3 separate regions of the Homo sapiens genome follow, and all the other regions are linked to region 1. Evidence: promoter capture Hi-C in 16 types of primary human blood cells and fetal thymus (Javierre and others, 2016). All regions are on one chromosome and are shown on one strand. The core of a region is centred on a gene start or on the middle of the fragment in contact, and the rest is flanking DNA. Distances in the headings are between cores, read along the strand shown. Region 1 holds the start of SRSF4 (serine and arginine rich splicing factor 4). Region 2 overlaps PUM1 (pumilio RNA binding family member 1). Region 3 holds the start of LAPTM5 (lysosomal protein transmembrane 5).

Region 1 (4,353 bases), core at 1,291-3,790:
CATTGTACTTATTTTATTAGAGATGGGGGTCTTGCTGTTACCCAGACTGGAGTGCAGTGTCACAATCATAGCTCACTGTAGCCTTGAAATCCTAGGCTGAAGTGATCCTCCTGCCTCATCCTCTGAAGTAGCTAGGACTATAGGCGAGTGTCACCACGCGTGGCTAATTAAAAAAATTTTTTTCTTAGAGATGGGGTCAGGCTGGTCTCAAACTCCTGGCCTGAAGTAATCTTCACACTTCAGCTGGGATTGCAGGCACAAGTCACCATGCCTGAGCCCCAACTACGACATATACTATTCCCAGAAACCTAAATTTCTTCACTTCAAGCTCTAATCTATTCTTCAAAGCCATTTCAACACATCTTTTCAAGCAAATCATTCCAAGTTTTACTAGAGTTTAAAGCGAAAGCAAACATTTCTTAATTCAAAGTGCACATGTCATAATGCTTAATTTATTCAAGAGCAGAACTGTTTTCTGCCTCCTCCCCCAATTCATTTAGCACAGTGGTGGACATTTTGTTGATGGGTTATCAATACATTTGGTTGATGAATCAGTTTCCCATTAACAGTCTTGTCATTTCCTGCACACTATCACCTGAGTAACATTAGAAAAGACCTCACCAAACACGCTTTATGTTATCAAACACCAACAAGCAAAGATGTTTCCTCATCCCTCTGATTATAGCTGCCACTTACTGCCTAAGCCAAATGCTTTACATTTATTATCTCTAATCTTCCTTTTCCACATGAATGAACAACCAGGTTCAGAGAAGTAACTTGCCCATACGTAGTAAGTGGTGGAACCAGGATTTGACTTAGGCCTGGCTGGCTTCAAAATCCACACTTTGTCCACAAAAGTTAGTTATGCTGTCAATTTAGCTGGGCTCTGAAAAAAACTGGAGTTTCAACTTTCACATATATGGTATGTATACAATAACGTCTACCCGCCACTTCAATATATCCTTAAGAACTGAACGTTTTACTGTAGAAAAGGAGTAGTTTTTAAAGCCTTTTACTGTAAAAGAAATCAGTACTTTACTAAAGACGTCCTCAGAAAGAAAACGATTCTAATAATTAATTTGAAATGGCTTTTTAAACCCAAATCATCATTTGAGAATACGGTAGCTACCAGTTTTCTCATACGTGAAACATACTTAGGTAACTTTCAAAATGTTTCAGGTGTCAGTTACTAGTATAACCCTGGGGAGTAAACGGTAGCTATATTACAACTGTTGCAAAGTAGAGTTTCTTTTTTAAGCCAAGAGTTCTCTAACACCCAAGGTTTAGTGCCCTAAAATGTCACCCCAGTCCTTTTAATTTTATATCCATGCCTTCCAAGCCCTACCTAACATCTGGTTCCCAGTTTTCCCCGTTGAGTATTTTCTCCAGGCCTGATTCCTCAACAGTTTTCCCTAAAACCTGTAGCTCATGCTGGCACTATTTTTGCCGAAGTAGATTAAGAATACAAGTAATAGATCATACTCTGGGGGAGGCAGTAAGTTAACAATTTCGTCTCCGTCTGCGTTAACCAGACGCAGATACTAGCCAGGGTGGCCACTATTCTCCTAACAAATTCTACAACGGCCAAGCAATTTTTCGGTAAGTTGGAAAACGGAAACCACAGCGTGGAAACTCTGCACGGAGTCTTAAAGATAAGAAGTTAAGACTTTAATTTACTCTTGCAGAGGGAACGGTGAAGGCTTTCAGCACGGCAAGACGATACTTTCGAAACTGTCACTAGACTACTCAAACTGGAGTCTCCCGCCCAAAAAAGCGTGGCACACGGCTAAAAAGGGCCTCCCTCCAAGGCTCCAGTCCTCGGGGAAGACGGCGCTGTGACCGTCTGATCCATGAGACCGGGCAAGAGGTGAAAGGGAGCAGGAAATCCTGTTTATTTCCAGTAGTCCTCAGAGCGGGAAAGGTTGGTGTCTACCCAGAAACGAATAGGGCCCCAGTTCCGGGCCTAGGAAGGGAAAACCCAGGTCTCCCGGGCGCCCTGGAGCTGTGCCCCCCTGCCCGGAGCACCAGCCCCACTCGGGCTTTCCTTCTCCCCGTCCCACTCAGGGCCTCAGCACAGCTCCCATTATGCCTCCACCACCCCCACCCGCGCAGGCGCAGTGGGAACCGGGGCCTACCCGCGCCCCCGAGGCGCCGCCACTATGGCGGAGCCTGGCCAGGCCGGTAGCCGCTCCGCGCGGACCAGGCGTCCCTCTCCCGTCCCCGCGGCCTCCCCACCACCTATGGGGTCTGTCCCCGCCCGGCCGGACCCTCTTTCGCCCTCCTCACCCGTTCTTCAGATCCACCTCCAGGATCTTCCCGTAGCCCTTAAAGAAGCGCTCCACATCGCGCTCCCGGGCCTGGTAGCTCAGGCGGCCGATGTACACCCGCGGCATCCCGGCAACGGCAGTGATGGCTGGCCCCGGCCCCAGCCCCCCTTAGGCGGCGGCGGGCAAAGCGAGAGCACGGCGGCAGCGGCGGCGGCGGCAACGGGCGGGCGGCGGGACGGACGCAGCCGAACCCCGGCGACGTACGCGAGCACGCAGCTCGCGAGCGCGCGCTTCCACTTCCCCCGCCCTTCCCCGAGGCGGAAGGTAACCGGAGAGAGCGCGCGTTCGCTTCCCGCTCGGCCAGGACTGGGGGAGGAGCTTGCCCGGGGGCGCGCCGACGTGCGGCGGGGCAAGGTGATCGACAGGCGGCGCTGCGGCACGTCCTCGCGCGAGCTCGCCAAAGGGGTTCCTGCACCGCCTTCCGCAGCCAGCTGGCTTCGCCCCTCCCCCGGAAGTGTCCGCACCTCCTAGAGCCCAGCGAGCGAGCGTTTGTGCTTTTGTCCTTTGAACCGGGTGTGGTTTGGATTTCGGAGCTGGAGCTTTGGAATCAAACCTAGCTTCCAAACGATTGTGTACCCGTGACCTTGGGCTTGTTACGCGCGATGTCTCGGACCCTCCTTTATCTTTTCTGTAAAAGGGGGAGAGTAGTTCCTACCTTCCAGAGTTGTCTTGAGAATTATATGAGAATACGTACATAAAGCACTTAGTAGTTTTGTCATATCAAGTGCCCAATAAATGAGACCAGTATTATTTTTAAGAGGACACTGCTTAAATAGAAGCAGTGTGAGAAGCGGAGAAGGCTGGAGCTTTGGAGCTAGACTAGGCATGACGCCGAGTAAATTACTTGACCACAATCCAACCTATTTTTTTTTTTTTGAGACGAGTTTCGCTCGGTCGCCCAGGCTGGAGTGCAGTGGCGCGACCTCAGCTCACTGCAACCTCCGCCTCCCGGGTTCAAGCGATTCTCCTGCCTCAGCCTCCAGAGTAGCTGGGACTACAGGCGCCCGCCCCCACGCCCGGCTAATTTTTGTATTTTTAGGAGAGAGGAAGTTTCACCATATTGGCCAGGCAGGTCTCAAACTCCAGACCTCAGGTGATCCGCCCGCCTTGGCCTCCCAAAGTGCTGGGATTACAGGCGTGAGCCACTGCGCCTGGCCTATCCAGTCTATTTTCTAACCTGTAAAATTAGAATAATGTATACCCATCTCAAGGATTACACAGGTCACTAAATGGGGTAGTGTATGTGAAAGTACTTGGAACAGTGTCTGAAACATGGTAAGAGCTCAATAAATATTGGTTCCCTTCTCACTAACGCCATGTACCTAGAACCATAAAGGGTTTTGTTTCTTTGCTTGTTTTTGTTTTTTGAATATTTTGAAAGGATAACTCAAGGTTCAAATGATACACAGTGAAAAGTCTTCGCTGTCCACCAGCCACTTAGTTTCTCTTCCCAGAGGCAGTTTCTGAAATGTCCTTTAGGAGGTTAATTTACCCTTATAAAACAAATAGTAGGATACTATACATATGGTTCTACACAAAATATATTTTGAAAATCATTCCTTAAGAGTATAAAAGGACTAGTTTTATGGTTCATACCATTTTATACACAGTAATTTATTTAGCCAGTGCCCTGGTGAAGGACATTGAAATAAGTTCCAACCTTTTGTTATTACACTGCTGCAGTAACTTTGCATTTCTCTCTCTCTCTTTCTCTCTCTCTCTATATATATCATCTATTCCTAGAAATAGGATATTTGGGTCAGAGTTTTGATAAGTTATTGCTCAATTCCCCTTAAGTGGCTGTTTCCTCATATCCTCATCAACACCGTGTTATCAAACTTTTTGATCTTTGCCAATCTGAGAGGTGAAAAATGTTATCTCCAAGTGGTTTAATTTGCAAATATCATATTTTGCAGAGATATGAGTCTTTCTTCATATGTTTGAGATATATTTTCCTATTTCTGTCTGTGTATATCCTTTACCCATTTTTCTTATTCATAGGTGCTCACTATATATTAGGAAAATC
Region 2 (4,353 bases), core at 1,262-3,761, 1.9 Mb after region 1:
CTGCTTTTCTCTTCAAGACACATGCAACGCTCATTCCACCAACACCTAAGGACAAACAGGTTACAAATATTTAATATTTCCATCTTTTGAAACATAAAACACACTAAGATAAAAACATGAACCCCATGTCTTTTACAATAAATAAATGTCGTTGGTGGCATGCACTCTGGCAAGGTATTGGGATCAGAACTCAATACTACCACTTCAGAGAAGTTTATGTTGTTAACCAACACATAGCAATACAGAATTAGACTTCTATCAGTCTACCCAACTTACTTATACCTCAAACCAACTGACAGTTTTTAAATGAACAAAAGCTTTTTTTTTTTTGAGACAAGAGTTTTGCCCCTGTTGCCCAGGCTAGGGTGCAATGACGCGATCTCGGCTCACTACAGCCTCCGCCTCCTAGACTCAAGCGACTCTCCTGCCTCAGCCTCCTGAGTAGCTGGTACTACAGGCGCCCACCACCACGGGTGGCTAATTTTTTGTATTTTTAGTAAAGACGGGGTTTCACCATGTTGGCCAGGCTGGTCTCGAACTCCCGACCTCAGGTGATCTACCCACCTCGGCCTCCGGAAGTGCTGGGATTACAGGCGTGAGCCACCGCGCCCAGCCCCAAAAGCCTTTTTAAAACTATCACAACTTCGGCCGGGTGTGGTGGCTCATGCCTGTAATCCCAGCACTTTGGGAGGCCAAAGTGGGTGGATCACCTGACGTCAGGAGTTCAAGACCAGCCTGGCCAACATGGTGAAACCCCATCTCTACTAAAAATATAAAAATTAGCCAGGTATGGTGCTGGGCACCTGTAATCCCAGCTACTCGGGAGGCTGAGGCAGGAGAATGGCTTGAATCCAGAAGGCAAAGGTTGCAGTGAGCCGAGATCATGCCACTGTACTCCAACCTGGGTGACAGAGCGAGACTCTCTCTCAAAAAATCAATCAATCAATCAATCACAACTTTACAGCTGGAGCAGACATATGCTAATAACTAAACAAAAGCCTAAACCCATATATAAGTAGCAATGGCTCAGATTGTGTAATTTGAAAGGATCCCTTAAAGTGTCCAACATATTGGCCAGGCGAGGTGGCTCACGCCTATAATCCCAACACTTCGGAGGCCAAGGCAGGTGTATCACTTGAGGTCAGGAGTTCGAGACCAGCCTGGCCAACATTATGAAACCCCATCTCTACTGGAAATACAAAAATTAACTGGGTGTGGTGGTACACACTTTTAATCCCAACTACTTGGGAAGCTGAGGCAGGAGAATCGTTTGAACCCGGGAGGCAGAGGTTGCAGTGAGCCAAGATCGCACCACTGCACTCCAGCCTGGGCGACAAATCGAGACTCTGTTTCAGTAAAAAAAAAAAAAATAATAAATAAATAAATAAATAAAACCTCCAATATATTGATAGGATATTTCTTAAAGAAACAATAAAACCCTCTGACCAAGAACAGCAGCAGAATGCTTTTAGCCTAAGCCCTCTCCTCAGTTGTCACTGATTTTTAAAAGCATTAATATTTTTACCAGTAACTTACAACTATTAACTGTAATCACATTATGCCATTAGTACTTCAACTACTATAAACAGGATGAGACCAAACCAAATTTAAACACTTCATATTAGTGTAGAAAGCCTCACTACAGGCTGGGCACAGTGGCTCACTCCTGTCATCCCAGCACCTTCGGAGACTTAGGCAGGGAGAATCGCTTGAGCCAGGAGCTGAAGACCAGCCTAGGCAACACAGTGAGACCCCCATCTCTATTATTTTATTAAAAAATAAGGCTCTAAGAAGGCCAATGGAGGTTGGGCACGGTGGCTCATGCCTGTAATCCCAGCACTTTGGGAGGCCGAGGCGGGTGGATCATGAGGTCAGGAGATCAAGACCATCCTGGCTAACATGGTGAAACCCCGACTCTACTGAAAACACAGAAATTAGCCAGGCTTGGTGGCACGCGCCTGTAATCCCAGCTACTTGGGAGGCTGAGGCAGGAGAATCACTTGAACCAGGGAGGCAGAGGTCGCACCACTGTGCTCCAGCCGGGCGACAGAGCGAGACTCTGTCTCAAAATAAATAAATAAATAAAATAATTTTTTTAAATTATAAAAAAAAAAGAAAGCCTCACTATACAAACCAGAAGCCTCAGTTGGGTGTGGTGGCTCATACCTACAATCCCAGCACTTTGGGAGGCTGAGGTGGGCAGACAGCTTGAGCCCAGGAGTTCAAGACCAGCCTGGGCAACATAGCAAGACCTATCTCTACTAAAAATAATTAGCCAGGCATGGTGGCATGTGCCTATAGTCCCAGCTACTAGGGAGGCTGAGGTGGGAGGATCATTTGAGCCCAGGAGCGGGAGGCTGCACACCCGCTTGGGCGACAGAGTGAGTTCCTGTCTCAAAAACAAACAAACAAACAGAAGCTTCAACACGGTAATAGTGTAATGAATATATCGCAGACATTGTCTCATCACAAAAGCATTGAAAGGTAGCCATTATTATTTCTATTTTACAAATGAAAACACTAAGGTACAGGAGGAAAATGGGATGTTTCCAAGGCCATTCAACTAGCAAGTAGCAGAGAAAGGATTCAAACCCTAATCGTTCCCAAGCTTACTTCTTTCTACTAACCCCTTGCAGGAGTAACTCAACAATATGTCTCATTTGTATCCTCTACTCCTCTGGAAGACCAACAAAGAATCCCTCAAATGTTACTATGAAACACTAAAGTTCCTTAAAACCAAAAACTGCATCTGTACTTAAGATAGAACACTTGCCAGCCTGTGGGTGCTTTTAAAAAATGCTACAAAGTGTCCGGACACGGTGGCTTACGCCTGTAATCCCAGCACTTTGGGAGGCGGAGGCAGGCGCATCTCCAGGTCAGAATTCCAGACCAGCCTGGCCAATATACTGAAACCCCGTCTCTACTAAAAATATAAAAAGTAGCCAGGTGTGGTGGCACGCACCTGTAGTCCCAGCTACTCGGGAGACTGAGGCAGAAGAATCGCTTGAACCCAGGAGGCGGAGGTTGCAGTGAGCCGAGATCAAGGCACTGCACTCCAGCCTGGACGACAGAGTGAGACTCCATCTCAAAAAAAAAAAAAAAAAGCTACAAAGTAAATAAATCAGTTACCAATTAGGACACACCTGTCCACAGCCACGGTCTAATTTCAAAGCCATCGGCCTAACAGTCTACTGCTACAAATGCTTTATCTCTTCTCCCAACCCCCACTGTGATGCTTCAAAAACACATGAATAACAAATCTACTATCTCTCTGTTGAATAAATAAACCTTCTGATAAAGTAGCATTTGCTTCTCACAACTAAATTCATGTTTTTGAAGCCAGCCTAAGAAGACACAATGGAATTTGTAATTTGTTTAAAGCCTAATTTGGAAATGCCTAGTCTAGGTTAAGAATTCCAATCCATCAGAACCTTAGCAGGGTACTGGAGTAGTCTAACCTAGACACTAGTCCCTGCTCAAGTACCAAAACCAAAAAGTCATAGCCCGGTTTCACCATCGGTCTTTCAAAAGTGCAAACCAGCCTAATGCCTCCCTGCTTGGTTTTTTAAAGAATTCATTACTCTCTTAGTACTAATACTAGACAGTCCCATTCTGTTCTAAAAGGAAATCTCGACCTAACAATCTTTGTTCTAGAGCAGGCCAAGAGTTCCAAAACCCAAGTTCTTTCACTAAACAAAACTACCTGTTTCCTCATCTAGAAAATGAAAGAAATCCTTCCTCTATGACTCTCAATGTTTTGGGTTTTTCTTAATGAAAATGAGATAAATATAAAAGTTTTTGGTAAATTTAAAGTCATCGTGCTTAAGACTCTTAGAATTTAGTTACCCCTAGTTAAGGCAACTCCAGTCCCTAACAGAATTCCTAAAACAGCAAATGCAATCTTTTCTGAAATAAAAGCCTTCTCAAAATAGTTATCTAGGAGGCTGAGAGAAGGATAATGAGAGATTACCTAAGGAGGACAATGTACGTTATTCCAGTGATGGACACACAAAAAGCCCTGGCTTCACCACTACGCAATACACGCATGTACAAATTACACTTGTACCTCACAAATTATACAAATAAAAATTTTTAAAAGAAAAAAGTTATCTAACAAAGAATATCCACATAAAAGAGGAGTTTATCACTGACGCACACTAAACACACCTTCATTCTAAAAGGAATGGGGGAAAGAAAAGACTCCTATAAAAATGTTCAAACGAAACAATTGGCTTTTGTAAAGCTATCTGTATGCCCTAAGACTTCCTGCTTTACCTAAAGAGGCAAGGCAGTTTCTCAAACCAGAGAAAACCTGGCAGAACAGTTTCAAAGTGAGCAAATACCTAAGCAATT
Region 3 (4,353 bases), core at 576-3,075, 1.6 Mb after region 1:
TGGCCCAGGCTCCCTCCAGGCCCCAGGGGAAGAATCGGGGCTGTGTCTGCGGCCGACCTCACATCCCGGTCAAACAATCCCAGCCCACGTTCCTCCCAAGATCCCTGCCTTCCAAAGCACTTTCACATCTGCTGTTGGCTTTGCACACAAATAACCTTCCGGCTGCTGCTGTGCCCCATCTCACAGAGGCAGAAACGGAGCCAGCCTCGGAGTGAACGTCAGTTACATTTGCCTGGAAAGTGGATTCCAGCTCCCTTACTCCTCACTCTTGCGGCATCTCCCCAGGGTACCCCCAGCCATTTGACAGAGAAGGAAACTGAGGCCCAGAGCAGGACAGGGATTTGCCCAGGGTCCCCCAGAGAGGTGGAGAGCAGGAGTTCTTTCATTTGTGGGGCTCCGTAGATGACGGGTCACCGCAGACATTCACACTCACACAAGCACGCACGCACACACACCCGGGGCCCGCACACTCACCACATGGTAGATGGCCAGGGCGGTGGTTGCGATGCGGACATTGAAGCAGCAGCAGGTCTGGCGGACAGTGGACAAGCGGGGGTCCATGGTGCTGCCGTCCCCTCCTCTGAGACACTGAAGGGGAAAGAGCCTGGTGCCTGGAGCAGGGCAGAGAAGGGGAAGCTGCTGGCTGCCCTCCTCACTTCCTTCCTGCCCCTTAGACAGGCAGGGACAAGGTCGTCACAGCTGGGGCGGGGCAGCTGGGGAGGGGGAGTGGGGACAGGGCAGCAGCCTGCCTCAGAGCACCCCACTGCCCTCTGCCATTCCCAGGAGGGGGTTCCAGAGAGGACAGACCCTAACACGGTCATCATGCCCTTCTCTGCACCAGGGCCAGGGTTCCACCGTTTCACACAGCTTGCTTACTAGAAGAACACTACCAACTTTGGAAGCCAGGACTGTTACCAAGCCCATTTCCAGATGAGGAAACAGCTGTCCAGAGAGGTCAAGGCACTTGCCCCAAATCACACAGTAGTTAGCACTGGTGGCAGAATTCAAACCCAGATCTGTCTGGCTGCAAAAATAGCTATTGTCTAGGAGGCATTTCCTGCCTCTTCCAGGCATGCTCCTGGATTCACTCCTTTCATCCTCACCTCAATCCTTTGAGAGAGGTACTATTATGATCCCCATTTTACAGATGAAGAAACTGAGGCACAGAGAGGGGGAATGATTCGTGCAAGGTCACACAGCTAGTCAATGAAGGTGCAAGGATTTTAACTGAGGCTGACTGGTGCTAGAAGCCTCCCTGGAGCTGGTGTTCTCTCCCACTTCCTCACCCTGAGCCGCAGGGAGAAGCTTGTTCTTCCTAAGCTACGAAGAGGCGTGCAGGGCTCCAGACAAGGACGGAAGAATAACCAGGAAGCAAACCCATCAACTGTGCGCCAGGCCCTGGGCTAGGCTTCTCTTCTAGGTGGGTCAATAACTCTTCACAGCAATCTGTGAGACCCGAACCTCACTTTCAGGGCCTCAAGACCCAATCCCCATACTCACACAAAATCAGGGATTGCTTTTCCCCCTTGATCTTGCAAAAAGTTGGAATTAATAAGCCACAACTCTTAGGCAAGCTACCCTGGAATCTCTACTCCCTCCTCAGATGATAAATTATCCATATTGCAATAAAGAAAGGGAATAGGAAGTACATGCAACATTTCTGGAAGAAGCCCTGCTTCATTCCACAGCTGAGCCCCTTTGCAATGCCAAGCTTCTAGTGCAGAGCAGACAGGAACTGCCATGAAGCCCTGCCCTCCCAGGAGATCATGGAGTTAGGATTGGACACTGCTGCAGCCCATCATTTCTGCCCCAGGAGAGGTTATAGAAAGTCCCTAAGCTCCTCCCACTTGGCAGGAGTTGCTCTGTTAGACCCACAAAACTTGATTGGTGGACTTGATCAATCCATTCTCCATGTGCCAATGAGACCAAGGGGACTCTGCAAGCTTTGGGCTCCTGGGAGGCCTGGCCTATCCCTTCCCAACTTCATTTTCAAGGCTGTTCCTGTTCCTTCATAAGCCTTGCTGAGGCCTGACATCATAGAAAGGTGACACAGTGCAGTGGTTAAGAACTTTGGCTCCACAGGCCCATGGCCTGGGATCTTCTGGCTGGGTAGGCAGAAAACCAAGAGAAGTCCTCCTTTGTCTAAGAGTAGCAAGACCAGAGGAACTGGAGATCAGGAAACCAGGGGCCAGGAGGGCCCTGAGGCCATGCTGGGGAGTCTGCATTTGATTGTGCACAGAAGCCATTTGACGATTTCCTACCATAATAAATGATAGCCATTCATAACATTGTGATTTGGTGAAACCAGGACAGGTGCAAAGCCAACTCCCAAAGAGAGGGATGAAACACACTGACAGCATGTGGAATAATTGTACATGGTCTATGGGTAAACATTTCTCATTTTTTATGGTGATAAATTCATTTTAATGTGCATTATAAAAATATACATAACTAGTCCATGAATCCTGTGATTTTCCATTTATAGGAGTAATATAAAGTCTCATTTTAAAAGAAATGCATTTAAATAAAAAAGGCAGTAAGTCAATTTAAAGAACATATTAAGGAAGCCACAGCCTAGGAGGACGCAGATGTGGCAGACAGCCCTGGAGGTGGAGTAGGTGGCATCCGTTTGGGAATCCTGGGGCATGGGGAATCCCAGCTCCCCACTTAGTAGCTGTGTGGTGTCAGACAAGGCACTTGATCTCTCTGAGCTGTTGTTTTCACCTCTGCAAAACGGCGGGGCGGTTGGGGGGAACAGAAATTTGCCTGGCAGGGCTGCGGTGAAGGTGAAATGAGGTCACGTGAATGCATCTGTTTGTTTTCTCCCTTCCAGCCCGTCCCTGCTCCCCGATCTCACCCGTACTCAGGCTGCTAGGAGGAGGCAGAGCTGGGATTGAACCCCTGATCTGTCTGATTCTGAGTCCCCTCGGGCACTACCTCCCTCGCAGAAGCAGGAGTTCTGATGCAGTCATTTGTCTCTCACCGGGTCACCAGGCTCCAGCACACACTGGCCCCTTGGCAGGCACCTCAGTCACTCCCTGTGGAGTACAAGCCTGAATCACTTTATTGTCATTCCCAACAAACCCCCTGTGGAGAGGACGGCTATTATCCCAAAGGTCAGACCCTTTGGCCAAAGCCACTGTGATAGGCAGAATAGTGCCTCTCACCCCCCAAAAAAAATCCACCCTAATCTCTGGAACCTGTGCGTACATGGCCTTACATGGCAAAGAAACTTCACAGGCGCCATGAAATTCAGGATCTTGAGGTGGGTGGGGAGATTATCCTGCATTATCTGGATGGCCCTGAGGTCATCAAATGGGTCCCCATAAGTGAAGGAAGATCAGAGTCAGAGAGGGAGTGGAAGATGCCACACTCCTGGCTCTGCAGTTGGAGGAAGAACCATGAGCCAAGGAGTGCAGGCGGCATCCAGAAACTGGAAAAGGCAAGGAAATGGCTTCTCCTCTAGAGGCTCGAAAGGGAATCACTTTCATTTTAGCTCAGCGAGGCGCATTCCTGACTTCTGGCCTCCAGAACTGTAAGACAATAAATGTCTGTTGTAGTCACTGTGTTTCTGGTCTTTTATTATAGCGGCCGCAGGGAACAAATACAGCTGCTCAGTGGAAGCAACAGCTGAGCCTGGGGCCCCGTCGCTGGAGCCCAACACACTCCACCGAGACCACAGTCCCCATCTGCACAAGTGCAGCCCTTACTTCCTTGCTGTGTGACCCCAGCCAAGTCGTGAACTTCCCTGAGCCTCCGCTTCCTCCTGCGCCAAGCGGGGATAATGATAATGCCCATCTCGTTGTCTGTACATGCAGGTGGCAACACCACATAAGCTCACTATTTATATTCTGCTGTTTTCCGTTACGAATGATAAGTTTTGAGCTTCTTCAAGTTGCTTTTCATACCTTCTTTGTGGAGTGGTAGAACCCTTGAAAACTTCAGACCCTCTGAATTCATCAAGATAAGGACAAGGAAATGTTCCATGCCACCGCAGCCACGGCAGAGCAGATACAAATCTGCTTGTCAAACTGCCCTTGTCAATGTTATTTCTGACAAAGGAATCTTCTAAGACCCCCTGACTTCAGACATGGTTCCCAGATCCTAGAGAGTCATCTTTAATCCTGAAAAGGTCTGTAATTCTGGCTGGTTATCTGGCTTAATAATTTGCTGCCATGGTATATGAATATTTAAACAGACAGCTCTGTTTCCTCAAAGGCAGAATTAGTTGTAAGCTTTCTTTGTTAAGTCAGAAGAACATCACTGGAACTTCCCTCTTCACCCATAGGCCTGGAGGTAAAAATAAAACCCACGACTCTGCCAGCTTTTGTATTTAAACAAAGAGTTTGGGAG

The links. Contacts are between HindIII fragments. The CHiCAGO score rates a contact against its expected background, and 5 or more counts as called.
Region 2: a contact is called between a fragment that was not itself captured here and the fragment with the promoter of SRSF4 in region 1, in 1 of 17 cell types (total B cells). The highest score is 6.5, in total B cells.
Region 3: a contact is called between a fragment that was not itself captured here and the fragment with the promoter of SRSF4 in region 1, in 1 of 17 cell types (megakaryocytes). The highest score is 5.5, in megakaryocytes.

What each region holds. Positions count from the first base shown.
Region 1 is chr1:29,179,360-29,183,712 of GRCh38, forward strand. SRSF4 (serine and arginine rich splicing factor 4) reads right to left here and starts at 2,541. Exons shown (of 6, transcript NM_005626.5): 1 at 2,287-2,541. The coding sequence starts at 2,393. It also overlaps a transcript of MECR not described here. RefSeq lists silencers at 2,140-2,329, 2,380-2,589 and enhancers at 2,594-3,231, 2,660-2,889, 3,232-3,869. The HindIII fragment of the contact is 7,304 bases long and covers 1-4,353 here.
Region 2 is chr1:31,059,533-31,063,885 of GRCh38, forward strand. PUM1 (pumilio RNA binding family member 1) reads right to left here. Exons shown (of 22, transcript NM_001020658.2): 2 at 1-45. The coding sequence starts at 34. Among named protein-coding and RNA genes, the nearest start is that of PUM1, 4.0 kb to the right of the region's middle. The HindIII fragment of the contact is 189 bases long and covers 2,418-2,606 here.
Region 3 is chr1:30,757,185-30,761,537 of GRCh38, forward strand. It overlaps LAPTM5 (lysosomal protein transmembrane 5), which reads right to left and starts at 590. Exons shown (of 8, transcript NM_006762.3): 1 at 475-590. The coding sequence starts at 561. RefSeq lists enhancers at 1-193, 322-601, 1,670-1,739. The HindIII fragment of the contact is 232 bases long and covers 1,710-1,941 here.